Linked DNA regions of Homo sapiens: region 2 is linked to region 1. The links are contacts of gene promoters, found by promoter capture Hi-C in blood cells and fetal thymus (Javierre and others, 2016). All regions are on one chromosome and are shown on one strand. Each heading gives the region's core, a stretch centred on a gene start or on the middle of the fragment in contact. The rest is flanking DNA. Distances are from core to core; before and after follow the strand shown. Region 1 holds the start of AFAP1L1 (actin filament associated protein 1 like 1). Region 2 has its middle 30 kb from the start of ADRB2.

Region 1 (2,700 bases), core at 8-2,507:
CGGGAGGCAGAGGTTGCAGTGAGCCGAGATCGCGCCACTGCACTCCAGCCTCGGCGACAAAGGGAGACTTTTCAAGAAAAAAAAAAAAGAAGAAAAGAAAATATTCCCAGTCCAGGAAAGTACAGGAGGGTCTTTCCCAGGCCTTTTGTTGCCTCCATACCTCTGTGGTAGCTGTTCCCTGTTCCAGAATGTTCTAAGTAGGGAACAGTGGTCAGCTCAAAGCTGAAAACCATGGCCTGGCCCATGGTGGGAGGAGCAGTGTCTAGGAGAACAATTGGTCCTGGACTTTATGAAGGGTCTTAAAGTCAGACATTTGATATTGTGTATAAATGAGTGAGACCTATTTTCACAGGGATATACTAATAAGGTGAAGAAGTTGACATTCTTCATACAGCTTTAAACTTAGATCCCATTACTGTTCCACACTGGTCATAGCAATATTTTCTACAATCTTGCGAAAAGTACACTTATATTGCACTGTATTTTGTATGCTAAAAGTATTCATTTCCACATTTTTTATCACCCTGTTCTGCATGTTTTCACGTGTTACTCATTTTTCTATTCTTTTTCTGAATTCTCCCAGATCCTCGTTATGTTTTCACGTTTTAGTACACAAGGAACCTCAAAAGTTGAAAGTGTCCCAAGCCCTTGCCCACCTTTCAGCAAGCCTCTCTTTCTCCCTTTCCCAGGTGCTTTTCTTTCTGAAGATCTTTGTTATTATTTAACTCCTCTTTCGCAACACCACTGACATTGCACCGGCATCGCCGCGGGCCCACTGTCTGGCTTAGAAGGTGCTCAAGAAAGACCCGCGGCGAATGGAGAAGACAAGCCCAAAGCCAGGAAATGGGTGGCGGCTGCAGGGAAGGGGGTTTTGATTCCCTAGGATAAAAACGCGCTCCAACAGTCTCCGCATTCCGGCATGGAGCCGGCTGAGGGGTGCGGTGGTAAGACCCCATCGCTAGCGGAGTGCAAGCAAAGCCGCACACCTCCTGGGTCCGGGCTGGGGCAGGCCGCGCGGGCGCGGGAACGAACGCGTGCGGACGGGGAAAAGGGTCCTCCAAGCCCAAGTGGGAGCGCCGCGGAGGGCGAGCGAGCGGCAGGGCGCGGCGGGGCGTGTGCGGCACCACGGGACAGCGGGCTGCGGCCCAGGGGGCGAGGCGTGCTCGGGTCTATTCCGGGAGCGGCTCTGAGGGGCGGGCGCGGGCGCGGGCGGGGCGGGGGCTGCCGGCGAGCATCCTGTCTGGGGGAGGGGACCGCAGAGAGCGCCGGCCGCTGGGCTGGCCTGAGAGCGCAGCGCGCCGGCCGCTACCAGCCGCGCCGGAGCCCCTGCGCCCTGCGGCCCGCTCCCCGGGGACCGGGCCGGCGCCATGGACCGAGGCCAGGGTAAGAGGGGCCGCGACGCCCGCACTTGTTGCGGCGCCGGGCGGGAAAGGGAGACTGGACGATCTGAAGCCGGAGAGGAGGAGGGAGAGAGGCGGGCGGTGGGGCGGGGGCTGAGGAACGCTCGGAGGGGACTGGGAGACGCGGCGCTTATGCAAAGGTGCCTTCGGCTGCCGGGACAACCCGGTGCGTGTCAACGCCCGTGTCCTGGGGCCAACTCGCCTCTCGTGTGTGAAATCAGAGTTTTCATAGGCTAACGATTTGTAACTTCATAAAAGATCCCCCTCTAGTTTCCGGAGGACAGCGAGCTCCTCCCACCTCATTCCACTCTAAAGGGGAAAACAAGGTGTACAGGTTCAACTCCCGAAACACCCGCTGTGGGCAGCCCCTAGGGAGAAGCTCTAGGGGACCGAAGTTTGCAGCTGCCTAGGGCATTGCGAGAAGGAGGAGCGCCGTGAGCAGGCGCGCGTGTGCATGCATGTGTGCGCCAGGGAGGGAGGAGGCGGGGGTGGTTCTATCCCGCACCAGCTGTGTCCTCGGCCCAGCCCTTCTCTCTGGACCAGCGACAAAGTTGGACTAGATGGTCTCCAAGGCACCTTGCCGACCCTTTTCCAGTGTATTTGGTAGACGTTTCACAGAAGTGGAGGGGACTTACTGAAATTGAGATTGACATAAGCCGAGAGGGCAGCATTCGTAGGGGGCTAGCGCACATTTTTTTCTGTTTGTTTTGTTTTGTTTGAGACGGAGTTTCGCTCTTGTTGCCCAGGCTGGAGTGAAGTGGCGCGATCTTGGCTCACTGCAACCTCCGCCTCCCGGGTTCAAGCGATTCTCCTACCTCAGCCTCCCGAATAGCTGGGATTAGAGGCATGCGCCACCACACCCGGCTAATTTTTGTATTTTTAACAGAGACGGGGTTTCACCATATTGGCCAGGCTGGTCTGGAGCTCCTGACCTCAGGTGATCAGCCGGCCCCGGCCTCTCAAAGTGCTGGGATTACGGGCGTGAGCCACCGCGCCCGGCAGCGCACATTTTAAGTAAAGGTCTAGACATGGCCTTTGGCAATGGCCAGATGGGCATGTGTGTGTCTGTAAAGAAGTGGCCTGCTTGGACATGTGAACAGTGTCAGAGGCTGGGAATCAGAACCCCAGGGTTTCAGTCTGCACCTCTGGGATCCAAAGAGATCACAGGTGTGACGGCACTAGATAAACTAGTGAGTGCTGTGCCAACAGGCGAAGTGTTGTTGTTGTTGCTGTTATTAATAATGGAAAATTCATTCCCCTCCCCACGATAATCTCACACCTCTCCCCCATCTGCCTGTTT
Region 2 (2,700 bases), core at 165-2,664, 470 kb before region 1:
ATAAAACACACATCGGGAAATCCCAGTGTAAGGATTTCATCCTAAAACCAGCTAAGACTGTTCAGAGATGAAAATAGGGACATAATGAGTAATAGACCGTGAAGGCAGGAATGGGGCATTTTTGGTTATTATGAGGCCAATGTAAGCTTACCAGTTTGATAAAATTCATAACAGATAATTACATGAGAAGGTCACTTTTGCTGTCCTGTTTGGAACTGATAAAGTAGAGGTAGAATCCAAACATTCTAGGGATTCTGTAAGATGATTTATCTACAGTGTGGGAAGGAAAAATTATGTTGTCTATTTATATTTATATTGTTTCAAAAATCATAAAGAAATTAATATTCTAATATTTACATGTATTACATGGGTTAAAAGTGACACATTAGTATGATTTATAAATATATATACTTGGCTTGGATGTTCAAAAATGTTATAAGAAGGGATACATGGTAAAGAAAAGCCTGGAGATTGCTAGATTAGGTGACCTGTAGAACGAAATGTCTAGTGCATGCACCAAGGCTGTGGTTGTGGAAATGTAGAGGAAGGAATAAAATCAAAGAACCGATGGGGTGGGAGTTAGAGAAAAGAGTTTTGGGGAGGTGGAGGTGTCATCAGCAGCAACTATGAAAAATGTCTGTGGAGTGGCTATGAAAAATGAATGATGACTGCAAGGCCAGGAGCTCTGGAGATAGGTTTAAGTTTGCTGCAGAAATTGAGAATGAATAGGGGGCCCAAGCACTTATAATGCATTCACATTGCAGCATTAATTGTAGTCCGGTATCTGGGACATAATATCTGTTCAACAGATGTTCTTAAGAAGAACAAATGAGTAAGTGAATGAATTAATGAATGAATAAATTCACAGGGCTTAGCAAAGCAACGTGGAGTAAGAAAATTTGGGCAAAATGAAAATGACCTGACCAAGATTCCACAAAATGTTATTTCCTAAAAACAAACAAAAAAAAGTATAACAGCCCCTGATATTAGTTTGTTTTTGACATTAGACCAAAGTATTTTCAAAAGAGAATTTGTTGGATATATCCATACATATTTTTATGATAGACTTTTTAAAAATGTTATGTTGGCCGGGCATGGTGACTCACGTCTGTAATCCCAGCACTTCGGAAGGCTGAGGCAGGTGGATTGTTTGAGCCCAGAAGTTTGAGACTAGCCTGGGCAACATGGTGAAACCCCATCTCTACAAAAATACAAAAATTAGCCAGGTGTGGTGGTGCACACCTGTAGTCCCAGCTTCTTGGGAGGCTGAGGTGGGAGCATGGCTTGAGCCCGGGAGGCAGATGTTGCAGTGAGTGGAGATTGCACTGCTGCACTCCGGCCTGCATGACAGAGTAAGACTCTGTCTCAAAAAAAAAAAAAAAAAAAAAAAAAAAGAAAAGAAAATGTGTCATACATGTACGTTGTAGAAAAATCAGAAAATACAAAGAAGCAAATAAAAGGGGGGGCGTGTGCAAAATTTATCATACCACTATCCAGAGATAACACAGGTATATATTTATAAAAATGAGCTTATATTTTAAATACTATTTTGTAATTACTACTCAGTCACATTCAGTTTTTTAGTTGCTATTCCTCCATGGCCTCAGGACCCAGCTGGAGGACTCTTGTGTCCATGTGATCAGCCCCATTAGTCATAAGCACTGCCAGGTCTCTTGCCTGTAGCTCCTTGTGAGCAATCTGCCCATCCCTGGCACCTTACTGATAAGTTCTCCCCAGGCCTGGACACTGGAGGCCCCAGTCAAGGCTGGAGTTAGGGTGAGGTAAGTAACATACCTGCCTTGGGGACAAAAATTAATGCAAAAATATCCATGATGAGCAAAATGTCAAAGTTTTAAATAAATATAGGACCTGACAGGGCCAAGATTAGGGTGAGGAGAGGGAGTAGGTCACACGATAAGTGCAGAGTTGGATCCTGTCTTTATTAAAATGTTATTCATTATGGAGGTTATGTATTGGTTTTGGTTTTTAAAATATTACATTAAGATATTATTTATCTTCGCCACCCCTTAGATTTTGCACTTGGCTACAAACTAACCCCACCCTATTCCTGGCCTTTTAGTGTGGATTCTGGTGGGGCAGAGTAGAGTATGGGATCAGCTTCATGGCTGAGAGTAACGACACCTGAGCCCTCGTCTAAGCTGTACTATTAATTACCTATACATTTTTCAGTTATTTCCCCTTTCTGGACCTCCGTTTCCCCAAATGTAAAAATATGTGGGTGAACTCTATGATTTGGAAGCACAAATTAATTGCACAAATTCCATGATGCTAATTAGAATTGTAGCTAGAGATCAGGAGATTTCCTTCCTGATACTACCTCTGCCATTTACTAACTATGTAACCTTGGGTAAATCACTTCCCAATTAGACACAGACAGGCTTCCTAATCTCCACTAGCTGGGGTGAAATCAAAATAGTCTACAAGGTTCTTTTGAGCTTTATATGTTTCTGATTATTTTCCTACTTGAAGCCAAAGAATATCCCAATACCATAAACAGTAGAAGCCAAGTGTCTTGTTATAAGCAACCAGATTTTAACAAACGGACTTAAGAGCAAAGTTAATGATTTGGCAAGATGTTAGGAAGTCTTCTTTCTGAGGAAAGAGAATTCAGTGTCAAGCAGGCAATATCTAACTATTGTTTAGTTTTGAGACACCCTCATTAGAAGCTTGTGCTTATGT

The links. Contacts are between HindIII fragments. The CHiCAGO score rates a contact against its expected background, and 5 or more counts as called.
Region 2: a contact is called between a fragment that was not itself captured here and the fragment with the promoter of AFAP1L1 in region 1, in 1 of 17 cell types (M1 macrophages). The highest score is 5.1, in M1 macrophages.

Annotation. Positions count from the first base shown.
Region 1 is chr5:149,270,602-149,273,301 of GRCh38, forward strand. AFAP1L1 (actin filament associated protein 1 like 1) reads left to right here and starts at 1,258. Exons shown (of 19, transcript NM_152406.4): 1 at 1,258-1,383. The coding sequence starts at 1,368. RefSeq lists enhancers at 1,237-1,776, 1,777-2,318, 2,319-2,700. The HindIII fragment of the contact is 5,831 bases long and covers 1-2,700 here.
Region 2 is chr5:148,795,473-148,798,172 of GRCh38, forward strand. No RefSeq gene overlaps it. Among named protein-coding and RNA genes, the nearest start is that of ADRB2, 30 kb to the right of the region's middle. The HindIII fragment of the contact is 2,541 bases long and covers 145-2,685 here.